3 separate regions of the Homo sapiens genome follow, and regions 2 and 3 are each linked to region 1. Evidence: promoter capture Hi-C in 16 types of primary human blood cells and fetal thymus (Javierre and others, 2016). All regions are on one chromosome and are shown on one strand. The core of a region is centred on a gene start or on the middle of the fragment in contact, and the rest is flanking DNA. Distances in the headings are between cores, read along the strand shown.

Evidence for each region. Contacts are between HindIII fragments. The CHiCAGO score rates a contact against its expected background, and 5 or more counts as called.
Region 2: a fragment that was not itself captured here is called in contact with the fragment with the promoter of NAA20 in region 1 in 2 of 17 cell types (endothelial precursors and naive B cells); the score reaches 7.5 in endothelial precursors.
Region 3: a fragment that was not itself captured here is called in contact with the fragment with the promoter of NAA20 in region 1 in 3 of 17 cell types (naive B cells, M1 macrophages and total B cells); the score reaches 7.6 in naive B cells.

What each region holds. Positions count from the first base shown.
Region 1 is chr20:20,015,437-20,019,007 of GRCh38, reverse strand. It overlaps NAA20 (N-alpha-acetyltransferase 20, NatB catalytic subunit), which reads right to left and starts at 1,646. Exons shown (of 6, transcript NM_016100.5): 1 at 1,559-1,646. The coding sequence starts at 1,611. RefSeq lists enhancers at 1-383, 845-1,345, 1,960-2,139 and silencers at 1,400-1,519, 1,570-1,639. The HindIII fragment of the contact is 8,583 bases long and covers 1-3,571 here.
Region 2 is chr20:19,770,173-19,773,743 of GRCh38, reverse strand. The region is part of intron 1 of RIN2 (Ras and Rab interactor 2); the gene reads right to left. Among named protein-coding and RNA genes, the nearest start is that of RIN2, 14 kb to the right of the region's middle. The HindIII fragment of the contact is 1,447 bases long and covers 1,164-2,610 here.
Region 3 is chr20:19,787,364-19,790,934 of GRCh38, reverse strand. All of the region lies in intron 1 of RIN2 (Ras and Rab interactor 2), which reads right to left. Among named protein-coding and RNA genes, the nearest start is that of RIN2, 31 kb to the right of the region's middle. The HindIII fragment of the contact is 4,608 bases long and covers 1-3,571 here.

The DNA of each region.
Region 1 (3,571 bases), core at 397-2,896:
GACCCACTCCAGAGCAGTGGATCGCAAACGGAATGTGCGTTTCTAACATGGTCCCCTGACCACAGGCACCAAGTCTTTCAGAACCACTGCTCCAGAGCCAATATCCTTGGATGAAGTTCCTCGCTTTACTCATTCTCACCTGGGCCAATTCACTTGTGCTTGCCATGCCTTGGTTTACTCATACACAAAATGGGGGTGACAGCACCTCAAAGAATCGTGAGGATTAACTGGATTATTACGTGGGCACTCAGAACAATGCAGGGAACAGTGAGTTCAACACAAGTCACCGTAGCTACCAGACTGGCCCAACAGAAAATTCTTTCCACAGGATCAAGTCTAAACCCCTCCTGTTTCACCCATTTCTTCCTGACTGCTCAGTGGCAGAAACCAGCCACTAGATTCGCACTGATCCCAGTTGTCTGACCGCACTTCAAGTTTCCCCATTTTCATGCCCCGCTCCTTCTCCGGAACTTCCGTCTTCCTCACTTACCAATGTGTTATCCATCTTCAAGGCTCACCCCCTCTTTGAAATGTTCCCAGCCATCTTATCCCATAGTTCTTTCCATCTTCCTGACACTTGAATCGGAACCACTTTGTCCTTAGTTTTCACATACCGCCCTGTTGTTTTTTTAAAGTGGATCCAGGACTGATAGATGGGAAGGAAGGAGAGATACCAGCGTAGCAAAATGTTAACTGCAGAATCCAGGAAAAGTGTCTATAAAAGCACATGGTGAAATTCCTCCAACTTTTCTAAATGTGTGGGAATCTTCATAATAAAATGTTTTCTTAAAAAAAAAAAATTGGTACCTGCAAATCAGAGGTCTGGCCTTAACTCGAATCCAAAGAAACTGCATCCAGGGCTCTGGGCACAGCGAGCCTCCCCTAAGATCTGCCGTGACTCCTCACAGAGGAAAGGTGTGTACACCGGGGTGCGCAGCTACAGTAACTAAACTTGCAAACACTAACCATGACTGAGACAGCATCTGCTGCAGGGGACGCAGTGATCAGTGTCATTTCATTTGGATACAATTTAACCACGGCCACCAGGTGGGCTTCACGATGTACACATCCCAACAGCTGCTGACCAGCTTCCGATCCTCGCAAGCCCCCTCTGCGGCCTGGCCGTCGGCGGTGCCCTCTGCCCAGAAGAGGCGCGGCCCGGCCACGAACCAGCAAGCAGTAGGGCAGGGCGAGAAGCCCAGGTCGTGGGCTCCAGGCCGCGTCTCCAGCTCGCCCCATCACCCCAGCGCCTCCTGACAGCGACCACGAGCGGAGGCCCGAGCGCTGCCCCAGAACCTGCCAGCTCGCAGGGTCCAGAGACAAAGTTTGAGCACCTCGGCCAAGGTCGCCAAGGCCGGCGTGCGTCGACTCCAGGCCCACCTCTCCCTGGACCCTGTGGCCCCAGGGAGGCGCCCACGTTGGCCGGCGGGGGGTGGTTCTCGCGGGTCCCCGTCCGGGCTTGGGGTCCGGCCGGGAAGGCGCGGCTGGGGCCGGAGCTGGCGGGGCCGGGAAGCGAGGCCCGGCCAAGAGCGGCTGGCCCTAGGCGCGTGTCACTCACATGTTGTTGAAGCGGAACAGGTCGTCGCAGGTAAAGGCCCGTAGCGTGGTCATCGCGCCGCCGCCGCTTCCGAAGACCGTTCGCCAAGACCCCGCGCCCGCCCTGCCGGAAGTCTCCCGGAGCGTGGCCGCCGCGGAACCGAGCGAGACGGGGTACTGCTTCCGGGCTACGAGTTGCTGGGCAACGACAGCAGCAAAGCAGCTTCCTCTGGCGGCCGGCGGCGGGAATTGCCAGGTCGCTCCTGTAAGGCCTCCGGGGCTGTGGCTGCCCAGAACCTCGGAACCCCTCCCAGGCAGCGGCTGCAGAAAGCAGGCGGCGACACCTGGGAAGGAAAGAAGCTGCTGGTGATGCGGAAACCCAAGCAGAAGAGCGGAGTTCGCAGCCACCCGGTGCTGCAGAGTAAATGAGGAATGGGAGAATTTATGACCCAGAATCCCTTGTCCCAGTGTTGCGAGTTGCAGATGTCATCTTAAAATGTCAATACCACGTTTAAAAACAAAAAGAAGGCCGGGCGCGGTGGCTCACGCCTGTAATCCCAACACTGGGAGGCCAAGGCGGGCAGATCACTTGAGTTCAGCAGTTCGAGACCAACCTGGCCAACATGGCGAAACCCCCTCTCTACTAAAAAAAAAAAAAAAAGGAAAGAAATAAAAATTAGCTGGGCGTGGTGGCACGCGCCTCTAATCCCAGCTACTTGGAGGCTGAGGCAGGAGAATCGCTTGAACCCAGGAGGCGGAGGTTGCAGTGAGCCGAGATCTCGCCACTGCACTCCAGCCTGGGCGACAGAGCTAGACTTGGTCTCAAAAATAAATAATAAATAAATAAAAGCAAAACGAAATGTAAAATTGATTTTGATAGTACGCTTTATTTTACCCATTTATTTTTCCTATTTGGGAAAAATATTTTTCCCTGACCCCACTTTATTATACCCGAAATATCATTTCAACATGTAACCAATCAATACTCAACATGTAATCAATCAATAAAAAAAGGAATGTGATATGTTACATTCTTTTTTGCAAAGACTTTGAAATCCGGTGTGTATTTTACATTTGCAGTGCATTTCAATCTGAGAGAGCAGCTGTCATCGGAAATGCTTGTTCTCTATTTAGATTTCATCAATGTATGGTTAAAAAGCAGATTCTCATATCCAAGCGGTTCCAAATATACTGTTTTCAAATCGCTGAACCAAACATCAGTTTTTAAATTTAAAGTAGTTAAAATTAAAAGTTAAAAATTCCTTTATTCAGACCAGACACAGTGGCTCACACCTGTAATCCCAGCTACTTGGGAGGCTGAGGTGGGAGGATCATTTGAGCCCGGGAGGTAGAGGTTGCTCTGAGACATGATTGCACCACTGCACTCCAGCCTGGGTGACACACCAAGACCCTGTCTCAAAAAGATAAGATAAAGAGAGATAAAATACATAAAGCAAGCAGGAATGCTGAAATGTATTTACACATGAGTGTTAAACTGGTCAATATCCACAGAGCTGTAATCACTGTCTCTCCTGGGCACTGTATAACACTATGCATTTGTATTTTATGGACAAGAAAAATTTTCATTACTATCAATTTTCCTCAGCTTACAAATTTGTAAAATTTTGTATTGTCAAAGACAATAAAAAGCAGAGAAAACCTGGAAACGTGTACTAAACAGTAATCTTTTTCTGGCCATTTCAAAGTGTTTCATAATTTTTTGTGTGTGACATGAACTAATGTTGATTTGAATTTTGTTCCTTATGAAGTAGTGAAGGTTTTTATAATATTTTTGGCTCTGATTCATTGGTATTATAAACATTAGAAGTTTATAGCTACTTTATGTTTGTATCTAGGTAATGGTGGAATAAACATGATTTTGATTTTTAGAAAAAAACACTGTGGGTTTAACACAAAGGTAGCATTGGAACCCTGCAGAAACTGGATGCTGTAGGCCAGCAGTTTGCAAGCACCGATACGAATTATTATTCCGATTTTGAGGCACAGATCAGAAATATCCTATAGCTACGTGGCC
Region 2 (3,571 bases), core at 638-3,137, 250 kb after region 1:
CAGCAGGAAGGAGAAGCTGCCGTTCATTAAGCATCAATACCTCCAAAGAGATGTACCTGGCACTCAGCAGTACCATGGAGAGATCACAGAAACCAGTCAGGGTGGTCTAATAGACAGCACGCCACCAAATCAAAGCTCAGGAACCACCCACCTCGCTTGGCCCTTTCTTTAAGCCTTCAGCTCCCATTCTCTGCTTTCACCCACCTCAGAAGGTGCTAAGGCCTCCCCAACAACAGCAGAACAAGACAAGATGGAGGCAACTCACACCCAGCCCTTTGACCTGGAATAGCTATTTACTGCTGAGAATGCCTGACTCTATTTTCTGATTGTGTGCACTGGTCACACTTCCTGGATATCTCATCAGTTTCTAATTTTACACCTAGTTATGGGTTGAATTGTGTCCCCACAAAGAGATATGTTGGAGTTCTCACCCCTACTAGCATTGGATATTACCTTATTTGGAAATGGGGTCTATGCAGATTTAACTAATTTAGATGAGGTCATCAGATGAGCCCCAATCCAACAGGAAAGGGGAAACCTGGAGGACGATGTGAGGACACTCAGGGAGAATGTGTGAGCATGGAGGACTGGAGGGATGCATCTACAAGGCATGCTTGAGGCTTCCAGAAGCCGGGAGGCCTGGAACAGCTCCTTCCCTACCACCGTCAGAGGGAGCACAGCCCTGCCAACACCTTGATTTCAGACTTCTGGACTCCAGAACTGTGAGACAATAAATTTCTGTTGTTTCGAGCCACCTTGTTTGTGGTATTTTGTTACAGCAACCCTAGAAAATTAATGCATGCCTGTATTTCTACACAGGGACACCCTGAGGTTATTACAGAGTCATTGCTACAAGTGTAGGTCCTGGTGTTTGACAGACCAGGAGTGAATTGTGGCTTCCCCACTTTCAAGCTTTGTGACTACAGACAAATCACTCCATCTCTCTGTGCCTCAGTTTCTATAATTTGGGGAAAAAAGCATAAAACGACTTCATGCATACCAGGGGGATGAGGCACGAAGTGATCATCTCACAGGCTGGTCAGGGTTCTGAGATGAGGCAGCCATGTGAAGTCCTGAACAGAGGTCTGGCTCAGGCAGTGCCGGGACCCTTTTAGCTGCTGGGATTATTCCTTGGGATCTTGGAGTGCTTGTCAGTGGAAGCTTGTGTCTCTTGTGACATGAAACCCAAGATCAGCATGGTTCCAGGGCTGGCTTCGTGGCACCCAAACTGTTCAGTCACACAGGGCCCTGCATTCAGAAGGGCCCCATCCTTGGTTTAATGTCAGATGCTGCTAGAAAATCACATCATATGGGGATCAAAGACTGACCACTGGATTTGAAAACAGGGGGGTCATCGGTGACCTTGACAAAATCAGTTCAGGGGGCAGTATCCTGGCTAGAGTGGTACAACGGAAGAAGTGGAGGAAGAGACTTGGGGACAGTGAGCACCGATGCACTCGTAAAGAGTTCTTTGTAAAATGAAAGCTGAGAAAAGATGTGGGAGCTGGAAGTAAAAGTGGAGTCAAGAGAAGGTTCTCTAAAGTTGGGCCATACTACAGTATGAATCCAGCTGGATGGAAATGACCCAGGAAACAGGGTGAGAAACTGGTGACCCAGCAAAGAGCGGGACAATTGCTGCAGTAATGCCCTTGAGTATCTGAGAGAAGCCTGGGTGGACTGCATAACTGAGAGCGCGCATCTGTTCTATCCACGGAAGCAGGAGGGAGCTGGAGCCTACAGTCGGCATGCAGGTGGCTTGGTAGTGTTTGGGAGTCATGGAAGTTCTGCAGATTAGTTCTAGTTTCTGTGCAACAGAGCAAGATCCTGTCTCAAAATAACGAGAGAGTGAGGAGGGCAAGAGGAGGCAGGAGGAGGCAGGAGGCTTGAGAAGGGAGAGTCGGAGTGGAACAATCATTCAGGGCATGTTTTTTTCAAAGCCCATTAGTGGGTTGTGAAAGCAATTTAGAAAAGCTGCTGTCAGAGCGTTTTAATGAAATGAAAGAGGATAGGATCAGAGAGGAGAAGAAAGGAAATACCAAAGCAGTGTTAGTTCCCCAAACTCTCCTTCACTCCTATGCATATAAAAATGTAATTTGAAAAACAAGTATGTCGAAGATGGATCCGAAGAGGTGTGTGGATGGACTACGGAAAGGGAGCTGGACCCCTCGAGACCGACAGCCGTGAATCCCTTAAGGATGCCGTGGTCTTCCTGGCCATGTCCGTCTGCCTGGTGCAGGGACAGCCCAGGGGAAGTGTGCTTCAGCAGGGGTTGGGGTTGAGTTCGGGGAGTGCCCTGAGAGAGACCAGGCAAGAGAAATGAGGAATACGCAAAGGAGGTGTTATGTGATATATTATGAAACATATACCTGGTCTTTAACCCTGTTTCCTGCCATACAACTCCAAAAATCCTTAGAATCTCCAAAGTGATGTTTCTGCATGCTAATGAGCTGATTGACAGCTGGCAGTCCCTGGTTACAGGAAAGACCAAGGCAGGATTAGAGGACTGGGACTTTGACCACTGTCTCACCTCCAGGGACAGGAGAGGGGCTGAAGGTTAAGTTGATCACCAATAGCCAATGGTTTGACCAGGCAGACCTAGGTAATGAAGCTTCCACAAACACGCCAAAGGCCTGCATTCAGAAAGCTTCTTGGAAGCTGGCCTCCCCCTGTGCTTCTCTTCATCTGTATCCTTTGCAATATCCTTTACAATAATCCAATAAATATTTGTGTTTCCCTGAGCTCTGTGAGCTACTCTAGCAAATTAGTTGAACTCGAAGAAGGGGCTGTGGGAACCCCCACTTGATGCCGGGTCTGTCAGCAGATCCGGAGGCCGGGACTTGCGGCCCTAGTGGGAAGGTGGGGGGGGGGGGTGGGGGCAGTCTTGTGAGACTCAGCCCTCACCCTGTGGGAATTGAGCTGGAGGATGCCCAGCTGGTGTCCACTACTTGGTGTGTGGGGAAAAACCCCACACATTTGGTCACAGAAGGCTTCTGTGTTGGTGATTGTTGTGAGAGCAGAGGAAAAACACGTTTTTGTTTTTTTCACGTACAGGTTATACGTGAAAACATGGAATTCTTGCTGGGAAGGAGGCAGCAGGAGGTGGAAGAGGGACAGAGGCTGGGGGCAGAGCCATGAGTTGCAGAGCTTGGTGGTGACTGAGCGGAAGCAGCTCCGCAGGGAAAACAAGATTTCACATTTCCTCCTCCAGATGGAGGGCAGGGGAATTGTGTCCCCTTAGAAATGCTCATTTGCAGAGAGGTTCTGTTAAAATGGCTCATTGGGAAATGCTTTAAGGGTCAGAGGGCTTTCTCCTTGCCTCTGCGCTGGGCTTTTCACATGGCATGTAAACAATTTTGAAGTCAAATGGTATCATAGCTGGGTCAATTTCTCCAGCACTCACCCAACATTGTTTTCCTCAAAGGCAGTCCTGTTAAATTAAATAATCCTTAATTGCATAGTTCCTTCAGCTCAGTCAACCTTCAACAGTTATTTTGCTAAATTTATTACTTTTTATCTTTGCTTCTAGAATGATATTTATTTTGTAAAAGCATCATAATCCTTGTGAAATATG
Region 3 (3,571 bases), core at 468-2,967, 230 kb after region 1:
CATATTGAGGATTCACATGGAAAGGCAGGCCAGGTCATGGTCTGGACAAAGGGAAGGGTTTCCATTTTACAATGCAAACCTATGGGAGCTAGTGACCATCTCAGAGTTGGGGTGAAGTGCTGGAGGCTGGAAGGACCATTTAGGGCAAGTAAGAGAGACCTGAACTAAGGAATATGGGCTTGAACTAAGAAAGAAGGTGACAGACATGAAGAAGGGCCAGATAAGGCCACCCAAAGGATAAGGAAGTTGGGAGGGGGAATTGGTTGGGGTAAGTGGATGATTATTCTATTTTTATTAATTTTTTTACTGCTGGGGTAACCCTATGTTGCCCAGGCTGGCCTTGAACTCCTCCTGGACTCATGTCATCCTCCTACCTCAGCCTCCAGAGTAGATAGGACTACAAGTGCAAGCCACAGAGCCCAGCTTATCCTAGATTTAGATAAGTTAAGCCCAACTTGAAAAATCCAACATTAGTTGAAAAATTAACAGGAATAAATGGATATTCTGTATCAGGATAAAAAGTCCCCTTCCCTAAACCCACATACACAAATAGAGAATGAAAGCCAAGTGGAGTAATAGCTGCCCCCTAATTAATAAGGCTAGAGATCAAGTTATCTGAGTGGGAAGCAGGCAACCTGACTTGCTAGCCTTGTAAGACTGGGGCAGTTGCTGGTGTCGGTGGGTGTATGATTATTTCATTTTTGAATAAATTGAGGTTTCTAGGGAGATCCAGATTGAGAAATCCAAAAGGCAGTTGAAGAATTACTAGAGACAAATGAATAAGTCTATATTCAGAAAACAACTCATCTGCAACGAGGGAAATGATGGTCTATAGAGGCCAGATCACCTTCAAGCCTTCTGTTCAATTCTGGGTGCCACATTTTGATAAAAACGTGATAAAATTAGGGCCCGTCAAGAAGTAGCTAGAAATGAAATATGTGACCATGTTTAGGAAAAGATGTTTGAAGGAGTCTTGGATGATTGACTTGGAGAAAAGAAAAAGCAGGGAAGCCTCTGTCATGTGAGTGGAATTAGACTTGCTCAGTGACAGATAAGAGGAGAACCAAAGGAGAGAAATTAGAGGAAGACAAATTGCAACTCGAGGTGAGGAATCTCTGGCTAGCACTTTGGGACTGGGTGATTTTCTCCTCATCAAAAATATTAAAGCACAGACTGAACAACAACCCATGGGGATGCATAGAGGGGACTGAAGCACATGGCAGGGAACCAGGCAATAGTTGGATGTCCCTGAGAGTCCTACGACCCCATGGGAGGAGGCAGATTGGAACAACAGTTATAAGATTAGGAGCCACCTACAGGGAGCAGGCAGCTAAAGCTACAAATAGGTAAAATGCCCAAGATACCAACTGCAGCAAGAGAAAGTAAGTAAACCACAGAAAGAATCTTGTACAAAATAAAAGAAACTAGGCAAGATAGAGAAATCATAAAGGACTAGGAAGAAAATTAAGAGTGTCACATAACAAAAGACAAGGGAGAGGAAATTCTATTGAAGTATAATTAACATACAGTAAAGTGCACACATCTTAAGTTAAAAGTATTATTTTAAAAAATCTTCGCATATCCCAAGTTCACGAAGATATTTCTCTTGTATTTTTTCTAGAAGGTTAATTGTTTTAGTTTTAACATTTAAGCCTATGATCCATCATAAAATCATTTTTGTGTATGGCATAGGAATCAAGTTTTATTTTTTTCCTCAGGAATATCAACTGACTAGCGCCATCTGTGGAAAAGACTCTTCTCCCGCCTCCACACCCGCTTAATTGCAGTGTAGCCTTTGTTGTAAGCCAAGATACTGCATTATCTTGTAGCTCTGTCTCTGAACTCTCACTTCTGTTCCATTTACCTATTTGTCTATCCTTGTTCTGATGCCACAGTCTTCATTATGTAGCTTTATAGCATGTCTTAATAATTGGTAATGTAAGAGCTACAGATTTGCTGTTGTTCTTAAATATGGCTTTGAATTTTATAATTATTTTTCAGTTTCACCTACAGTTTGGAATTAACTTGCCAATTTAAACAGAAAATAATTCTGCTAGGACTTATTTGAAATTTTAATGAGTCCGTAGATCACTTTGGGGATAAATGACATCTTTAAAATATCTCAATCCATGAACATGGTATGTCCTTCTATCTATTTAGGTCTTCTTTAATTTCTCTCAATGTTTTGTAGTTTTAGTGTGGTGTTCTTGCATATCTATTGTTAAGGTTTTTTTTGTATGGTACTGTAGATCACATTTTCTATTTAATTTTCTACTTGTTACTAGTATATTAACTCCTGAGTAATGGCAATTTTAATTTTTTTTTTTTTTTTCGAGACAAAGTCTTGCTTTGTTGCCCAGGCTGGAGTGCAGTGGTGCCATCCCAGCCCACTGCAACCTCTGTCTACTGGGATCAGGTGATTCTCCTGCCTCAGCCTTCCAAGTAACTGGGATTACAGGTGCCTGCCACCATGCCTAGCTAGTTGTTTTTTTTTTTTTTTTTGGCAGAGACAGGATTTCGCCATGTTGGCCAGGCTAGTCTTGAACTCCTGACTTTAAGTGATCTGCCTGCCTCAGCCCCCCAAAGTGCTGGGATTACAGGCATGAGGCAATGCACCTGGCCAATTCTTATTTTCTAATTTTAATAACATTTCTTTCTTTTTCTTGCCTTAGTGTCCTGGTAAGACTACCAGTATATTGTTGAATACAGATGACAGAGTGATAGATGCTATAAGGTGACAGTGAATAAGAGTGATAGGGCACGCTTGTGTTATTCCATACATCAGAGTGAAAGCATTAAGTATTTCACCATTCAACATGGCTTGCACATACCCTTTGTCAGATTCAAGTGGTTACCTTTCCATGGTAGTTTGCTGAGATCGCACTAAGTATTTTTAATCTAAATGTTAAATTCTACAATAAAAACACAATAACTTATTTGGAAATACAAGTTAGGGAGGGGTGTAGTACTTTACATTACTGATAGAGGAAGTCTTCCTCTATTTGGAAAAGACCATCACCTGGGATAGATGGAGTAGATCTGAGATTGTCTTGTGTAATGCATAGGGTAGTAACATGGTTGCCAGTAAGCACATGCTTGAGTCAAGCAGTTTAATACCTGAACTGTCTATCCTCCCCTTACTAGATCTATGTCTCTGGACCTGGAGCTTAAAATACAAAATCCAGAAAGCATAACATAATGATAGCACTAGCTACCACTTATTGAGCACTCAGTATATGCTTGACATTGTATTAAGCCATTTATGTCTATTATTTCATCCAATCCTTGCCATAACCTTCATAACAACAGATGAGGCAACAAAGGCATGAGAGATAAATTTACTTGCCTGTGGTCACACAGCCAGTAAGTGAGGGAGCCAGGATTCAAACCATCTGACTCCATGACATTAATCACTACACTTTTGCCATCAGGAATAAAATCTTCTCCCTCTAGCCCCGCATTTGAGGTCATTTCTCTCTCTCTCTCTCTTTTTTTTTTTTTTTTTTTTTTTTAAGATGGAGTCTTGCTCTGTCGCCCAGGCAGGAGTGCACTGGTGCGATCTCAGCTCACT